Linked DNA regions of Homo sapiens: all the other regions are linked to region 3. Evidence: promoter capture Hi-C in 16 types of primary human blood cells and fetal thymus (Javierre and others, 2016). All regions are on one chromosome and are shown on one strand. The core of a region is centred on a gene start or on the middle of the fragment in contact, and the rest is flanking DNA. Distances in the headings are between cores, read along the strand shown. Region 1 overlaps LINC02452 (long intergenic non-protein coding RNA 2452). Region 2 has its middle 8.6 kb from the start of ELK3. Region 3 holds the start of CFAP54 (cilia and flagella associated protein 54).

Evidence for each region. The method cuts DNA at HindIII sites, captures the fragments that hold promoters and counts their contacts. A CHiCAGO score of 5 or more calls a contact.
Region 1: a contact is called between a fragment that was not itself captured here and the fragment with the promoter of CFAP54 in region 3, in 1 of 17 cell types (M2 macrophages). The highest score is 5.0, in M2 macrophages.
Region 2: a contact is called between a fragment that was not itself captured here and the fragment with the promoter of CFAP54 in region 3, in 1 of 17 cell types (naive CD4 T cells). The highest score is 5.9, in naive CD4 T cells.

Annotation. Positions count from the first base shown.
Region 1 is chr12:96,164,006-96,166,705 of GRCh38, forward strand. It overlaps LINC02452 (long intergenic non-protein coding RNA 2452), which reads right to left. Exons shown (of 3, transcript XR_945239.3): 2 at 1,302-1,426. Among named protein-coding and RNA genes, the nearest start is that of LINC02452, 7.1 kb to the right of the region's middle. RefSeq lists a silencer at 2,286-2,580. The HindIII fragment of the contact is 2,795 bases long and covers 1-2,700 here.
Region 2 is chr12:96,184,389-96,187,088 of GRCh38, forward strand. No RefSeq gene overlaps it. Among named protein-coding and RNA genes, the nearest start is that of ELK3, 8.6 kb to the right of the region's middle. The HindIII fragment of the contact is 2,888 bases long and covers 1-2,700 here.
Region 3 is chr12:96,488,288-96,490,987 of GRCh38, forward strand. CFAP54 (cilia and flagella associated protein 54) reads left to right here and starts at 1,290. Exons shown (of 68, transcript NM_001306084.2): 1 at 1,290-1,639. The coding sequence starts at 1,323. RefSeq lists a silencer at 1,144-1,438 and an enhancer at 1,329-1,538. The HindIII fragment of the contact is 3,410 bases long and covers 735-2,700 here.

The sequences.
Region 1 (2,700 bases), core at 107-2,606, 320 kb before region 3:
TAGAATCATCTGGGGTTGTTTTTAGATGAAATAAAGCATCTAGACAGACCCTGATTTTTGTTCAAATTGGCTGAATTGGCTGAACTGGGTTAAGTGGAAAATACTAGGTCAACCACAAGCCCACTATGAGTCTTGAGAAATGGACTTAGCTTCTGTCTGGATCCTGTATTACCCTGCCTGAAACATATGCTCTAAGGCAGCTGTGAAAGGGAACTGTTTTGATTTATGTGAGACCCTGAGCGAAGGATTTCAGTTCTCTGAGTGTCCACGCCATTGATGGTACATGCAAACTACACACACTACACACAAACACACACCACATTCACACACACTACACACACACACACACACACCACATTCACACACACTACACACACACACCGCATTCACACACACCACACACACACACCACATTCACACACACACCACATTCACACACACTACACACACACACACCACATTCACACACACTACACACACACCACATTCACACACACTACACACACCGCATTCACACACACTACACACACACACCACATTCACACACACTACACACACACACCACATTCACACACACTACACACACACAGCACATCCACACACACTACACACATGCACCGCATTCACACACACTAAACACACACACACCACATTCACACACACACACACCACATTCACACACACTACACACACACACACACACCACATTCACACAAACTTGTTGGAGTCAGTCAAGCCCCACAGCCCTAAAAGGCACTTCACAAAAGGGTGAATGAGAAGAGAAAGCAAACCTGAGATTCTGTGGGGCAATTGACACCAATCCCCCGTCCCAAACATCCCCATTTAAATGTGATTAATTTGCAATTCTGAAAGATGTCATTTGTGTCAATCCAGGAACGCATTCATTTTGGGGTGAGCGGAAATGTCCCCAATTTCTGGTGGTAGCGGATACATCTGAAAAATGGAATCGAATCAATTTTGCTCCCGAGAGGGACAGGTGGAGGACTCCTATTTCCTGCCAATTCAGTTGGAAACAATGAGGAGAGAGGAAAAAAAATGGAGCCCTCCCTTCTCTTTCTGGCCTTAGACATGAACTCCTGATAAGATCCTGGAAAACAGGCAGCGTTTTTAACAGCCGGTTGCCCTCTTCAGCTGAGAAAACAGCACGAGCCAAAACTAGGAACCGGGGCCACCTCTATTGTGAATGTGGCCAGGCTGACTTATTGTCGCCAAACAGCAAATCATGAAATGACTGAGATAAGGAATATAATCACATTTTCACATGAACCTTACATTCTTACCTCTTCTATAGGAAAGGATATCCCTGCAGGAAGGAGGAAGGTGGGGCCTGCCCATGTTCTGCAGCAGGGCTGGGACTGCATTGTCCAGGCTTTTGTAGGGACACAGGAAGAGGGTACGGAAGTTTCTACAGGAAAACAGAGAAAAGTTCAAACATAAACAGCATCCAAAAAAATTTACCAACAGCAAACTAGATTTCCTCTTTGGGCCTCCCATGCTTCCATGCACCCCTGGACTGGCAGATTTTAATCTTGGATTCTGTTCACCTTGGTAACCTCCAGCGCGTGTGATTATGCTGTTTCCCTACTTATTAAGTTAAAAGGATGTGTTTTCTATGGCAATGGAGACAAAAACAATCTCTTTCCAGAGACTGTATCCTGGCCTGGCCGGAGACTGTTCTGTCTTTTCCATTTGTCATTTCTGGGGAGGGCATGAGCTTTCCTGAAGTTCCGTGTGTGATAGGGCGGCTCCCTTTCAGGAGCATTTGAACAAAAGCTGAAAGTGGCTACATCATTGCTTCCCACGAGGCAGGGGTTTGGTTCGGCTCCCTGGTTTCAGCCAGAGATGAGCTTTGAGAAACTCAACCATAAGGGACACAAGAAATGTATCCTCACTCCACCCCCAAGTAACTAGTGAGGGCTGGAGTTGTCCCTTTCCACCCCGCTTGCCGTCTGTCCTCCCACCCCCCAGGGCTCAGAAGAAGCTGCCACAGGAATCTCGGCTGCCCACCCTGAGGCCGCACAGCTCTGGTTTTAGGGTTATGAAAACCACGGCTCTAACAGGGAGAATTCCATCACTAAATCTGAAAGAAGAGGGCCTAGATGAAACCAGGGAGCAGCTTTGGGGACTCACGCCACCTTATGCCTCGGCCTTGTGTTTTAAACCAAGTCGTTCCTTTCTGCCTCTGGTTACATAGATAGGTGACAAAAAAAAAATTATAGAAAAATGTTATCAGATTCCCTGGTTTTGGGAAGAGGGGCGTGAGGGAAAAGGCCTTCTCAAGGGCAAACTTTGAAATGTAAGAAGTTTCTCTCCACTCTTCTTCCTGACTGAAAGGCTTCACATTGGCTAGGGATCACAGAAGTCACTTCCACACTCGCTGTAATGGGGACTGCCAGGCACTAAAAGGAGCATCCGTCACCTCTCAGATGGGGCCAATCACACATTTCAGGAGCAAACAGTTACAGTTAGTAGACAGATTTCCTAGACACTTGCCCTTATGGGAAATTAAAGTACCCCCTACCCCCCTCAAAATAGCTCATAAGTCTAAGGATCTTCCCCAGCCCATCAGAGGATGGAGTTCTGAGTGGACTGTGCTAGATTTTTAGGGGATATCTTTTTCTGAATTGCTTTTTCCAGAACGAATGACTTCCATTATGTTCAGCCAGGGACCAATTTTTC
Region 2 (2,700 bases), core at 189-2,688, 300 kb before region 3:
GTTCTGTCACTCTTTACAATAAATCTTCCTGCTGCTCACTCTTTGGGTCCATGCCACCTTTAAGAGCTATAACACTCACTGCGAAGGTCCGCAGCTTCATTCTTGAAGTCAGCGAGACCACGAACCCACTGGTAGGAACCAACTCTGAACACACTGGCATCTGAATGTTTGTGTTCCCCAAAAATTCATATGTTGAAATTCTAACCCCCAAGGTGATGGTATTGGGAGAGAGGTTTTCAGGGGTGATTAGGTTATGAGAATAAAGCCCTCATGAATGGGGTTAGTACCTTAGGAAAGGGGCCTAGACCCCTCACTCCTTCTGCCGTGTGAGGACACAGCAGGAAGGTGCCATCTATGAACCAGAAATTGGGCCTCCACCAGACACCAAGTCTGTCAGCACCTTGATCTTGGACTTCCTAGACTCCAGAACCATAAGAAACAAATGTCTGGTGTTGAATTAAGCCACCCAGTTTATGGTATTTTGTGATAGCAGCCCCAACAGACTAAGACAGCGACCTAAAGCAGAGAACCACCCAGGACCTTCTCAGCATGTCAGAGTCTTAGACACACTCTAGTCCAAGCCCTCAGCACACAGTTTTATAGGCAAAGAGGCTGAATCTCAGGTGATTCAAGTTCATGGTAGAACCAGGAGTCCGATCCAGTTTCCCTGACTCTGCTTTCTGAGTGCTTCTCTTTATTTTCTTGTGGTCCTCTATTGTCATACAGCAAAGAATAGCGGAAAGGATTTGGATTTAGATCAGAAAACCTGGATTTTAGTTCCAACTCCATCACTTGTTAACCGTGTGACCTTGAGCCCATAAATCTCTTAACATCTCTGTTCGTCACTTGTATCAAACATAAAACGGGATTAATAATATCAGGGATCAATGGCTTAATCTATTTAATGGCACTTTTTTAGACTGTGGCATTATATGTATTTTCTAATAATTATTTTTTCTCCTTAAGTATCCATGGCATTTATTCAAGAAATGTGTATTGCTGTGGAGAGAAAGGGGTATGAGTGGATTACCAAGTCTCACCCTCCTAAGAGTATCCAGTGTCATGATGCTTCCAGGAAGAGATGCTTCCAGGGAGAGGATGCTTCTTTTCCTTTCACCCCAGTACCTGCTTCTAACCTCAGTACCCTCACAGTGGCCTACAGAAGTCACTCAATTTAAAGCGAATTCAATAGCATGACAGATTTTACCTCCAAACCACCATGTATGGCTCCCAAAAACAGCCTGCAGAACAGCGTTTCTCTTCTCTCCCATCTTGGGTTACATTGGTAGCTAAATCGGCCTGTGGGTACACATGAGGCCCTAAGACCACAGATGCCCCAGTTAGGACATTGTTCAATCTCTCCCTGCTCATATGGAAATTCAATACCCACTCCTTACCATCAACACTCTTCTCCAGTTGTTTCTCAAGAGTGCCAAGGTGGGGTCTCACACGACCTGGCTGGGGTTTTAGGAGCCCAATAAATGGTTTCCCTCTTCCCTGTCCAATTTCAGAATCAATTGAGAGGTATACCCAGGAGCCAGACTGATGGAGATCAAAATGATAGTCTTATGAGACAAAAGCTAAATTGGATGATACCCTTCCAACTGCAGGCACAATGGGTTCGTTTGTCATTTTGCCCCCAAGACCGAGTTTGCCTACCTAGGCTAAGCCAAAAGACTGCAGGCATCCCCCTAGCAGGGAGAACTGAGACCATGTGTTCCTGAGACAAGCTGGCTCCGAAAGAGGAGAGAGGAGGAAGCTGAGCCAAGCATGCCAGTTTCTTCTCCTAAACTTGCCAGTTAGAGAACCTACCTCTGCCGTTCCTACTGGAAATGCCTCCAGACAGAGACAGGAGGGAATAAGGGGTCAGGGGGCTGGGGAATCCTACATTTCCAGAACATGTTTGTTCATATTCTGTGCTTTCTGGCTTCCTCATTTGGGGCCCCCCCTCATGCCTGCAGGGACCATCAGGTTCCATGCCAATGTGGAGAAAATGCCCTCTTCATCTCTGTGCTGGCCCCCAAAGGGAAGACATGCCTGTGTTCAGAATTTCCTGAAGTTTCACAGGAAACAGCTTCTTTTTCTTGATTTTTTACCGCAACTCCCCTTTGGCTCCAGCCTTCCCAGACAAAGCCTATCAACCCATGCAAATAGATTCTTGAGGAGAAGGAATTTTACGCTTGTGCCTTGGAGCTTCTACTTGTTCTGAAGACCCTACTCTACAATCATCCTTGCACTTAGTGTCATGGTCCTGGTCTTCCCTTTGCTGCTCTCAAATTATTTTTAGGGATTTTTAAAAAATGTGATCATGAATCTCCAATGACTTAGCTTTTTCCACCCTTAAGGAGTTGGTCTTGAAAGGCCCGACCACCTCTTCCCCATCTTTGCCATCAATGCACAGCGTGACATCCTGCCCTTCACAGTATTTCCTGAGCTTCCTGTAACTGTCTGATGCTGCCCGATTTAAAAAAAAAAAAGACTGCAGTTTCCTACAAAGCCTTGTCCAACACCTTCTAGGATCAAAACAAAAGATAAAATACTTGATTTTCTTGATCTACACGTTTAAAATCCAAAACAGTTGTTTGCACAGGAACTCTGGGCATCATTGAAAGGGAAAGGGCCAAAGACCATTTGTACCTTTCTGAGCATGTCAGATTTATAGCATGTACGAAGTGATTTTGACCGGCAGCTGGTTGGTAC
Region 3 (2,700 bases), core at 40-2,539:
CCATTTTCTCAATACTCATACTTTAATAAATTTAACTCTGACTTTTGCCTATAATACACAGGCTAAGAATAAACTCCCCAAGTATTTCCCTGGAGGTCTGTAGTTTCCCCATCAGAAGTAAAGTCTCCTAAAAGCCCTGTTTAAAATGCAAAGTATTTTGAGAGTTAACACTTCAGGCCACTAGTATGTATTAATGTCCTATGGTTAAGGTTGAGCAAAATGCACATTAATTTAGAATACAGAGATAATTAAAGTAAGGCTGGAATGTGCATAAATAGATGTAATCATAATTATTAGAGGCATAGACATCATGTCCACAGTTACAGACCTCAAGGTACAAATAGAGGAAAGAGAATGGATCAGCTGCATATTCAGTACTCCCTGGCTATCTGTGGGGGACTAGTTCCATGACACCCGCAGATACCAAAATCTGTGGATGCTCAAGCCTCTGATATGAAATGCTGTAGTATTTGCATATAATTTGTGCACATCCTTCAGGATGTTTTAAATCATCTCTAGATAACTAGTAATACCTAATACAGTATAAATGCCATGTAAATAGTTGTATTTTGTGTTATTTTTATTGTTGTATTGTTATTTCTAATTTTGTTCTGAATATTTACAATCTGGAGTTGCTTGAATCCACAGATGAAGAACCCGAGATTTGGAGGGCCAACTGTATTTGATTCTTAAACTGCTTGTCAGATATTTCTCTAATTTCAATTTGATTAATAAGCTTTGTTTTGGGGAGTGATCAATACAGCCTATTCATTTTGAGCACAGGCTTTGGAGTCACAAGTTCCCTTTGGAGGACCTGGTCGCTGACACTACGGTTGTACGCTGACTTTTGTCAAATGACTTAACCTCCTTGAGCTTTGGTTTCCTAAACTGTGAGATGGATATACTAATAGTATCCTAAGTTGTAAAGTAGTTATGATGATTAAATGAGATAAATGAAAGTACATGTTTCAAATGCTTAATGCCTGACACACGTTAATGGTCATGGTCGTCATCATTATCGTTATTAAGTGGCCAACATGGATAAAGAGTATAGTCTGGATTTGTGACCTTAAATTTTTGGCTCTAATATTCGCCAGCGCTCTGCTCAGAACATTCTCTGTTCGCATTTCATACAGCGGTGCCAGCGCACAACCAGGCAACGCCCTCAGGAGCATCATTGTTTTCTGGACCTGGTTCTTTCTCGCTCTGCCCTCCAGGGGCCGCTGTGTTTCTCGGAATGCGCGCGGGATGCCCGGTTGCCACGAGACCGTCGCCAGGCAACCGCGTGTACACATACTCCAGGCGGGCCGGGGCGCGTCAATATGGCGGCGCAGGGCTCCCCCTCGAGCTCTCCGTCAGACGACTCTACCACCTCGGGGTCTCTGCCAGAACTGCCGCCGACCTCCACCGCGACTTCGAGGTCGCCCCCAGAGTCGAAGGGGAGCTCCCGGAGCTCGCTGCTTCAGTGGACCTGCCCCGAGGACTCATTGCCCCTAGCCGTGTTTTATGGGCCGCTGGACGCGAAAAACCCGCTCCTGGCCTCTTGTGAGAAGGAGATCCAGGAGTTGTTAGGCTTTATGAGGAAAAAGAAGGCTTTAGCCACCACGGAGGAAGAGAAGCACGAATTCCGCCGGCGTTGGTAAGCGCTGGCGGGGCACTGGGGAGGGCGCCGGCCAGAGGAGGGACCCCTGGAAAGGGCTGGAGGATGCAGGTGGTGGCCCCAGAGATGGTTCAGCGTTGCGGACGCAGGGGCTGGCTGAAGGGCCCAGGAGAGACAAAGTTTAAGAAGTGGAGACTCGTCGCTCTTAACAATCCTTAATTCCTGGGAGCTGTTATATCTTGGCTTCCTGCTCAGGTCAAAATAAAAATCTACACAGAAATGTTTCATAACTCACCATTTGTTATTTGACCAGAAAAGAAAGATGGTAACATAAGCAGGAAAGAACCTTAAAAAGAGTTCGCAGTTTGCAGTAATAACATGGTGATAGAACTCCCAAAAAGGCAAACAGTTGCGCAGAATGAATAGCAAAATTAAGAAAAAGTCACTGTAATCCTAATAGCAATATAAGAAGGAATTAAAGTGCACATGTTCACAGGATGACATACTTCATTGTATCAAGAGCTAGCTTCATGAACCTGAGCTACCTCGAAGTTATTCCTTTTTCTCCATATACAAATTTATATACTCATAACATGGAAAGTTGTGAAACCCTTGAGCGAGCCAAAAATTTATACATGAATACAAAATACGAAAATTAGCTGGGCATGGTGGCACATGCCTGTACTCCCAGCTACTCAGGAGGCTGAGGCAGGAGAATTGCTTGAACCCGGGAGGCAGAGGTTGCAGTGAGCTGGGATCGCGCCACTACACTCCAGCCTGGGCGACAGAGCAAGACTCCTTCTCAAAAAATAATAATAATAAATAAATAAAATAAAATATTTTTTATTTATGCATATAACAACTATTTATTGAGCACATACTGTATATCAAGTGCTGTTCAAGGAACTAGGAAAACATCAAGTTAACAAAACATATAAGAATCCATGTCCTTATAGAGCATATGTTTTTGTGGGTATAAACAACCACTAAACAAATATGTAAGTAAATAATCTTACAAGGAGATGACTGCTAGGGAGAAAAATAGAACAGGGAATGGTGTTGGAGGATATGAGATGAATGTTGCAATTTTATCTTTTTTT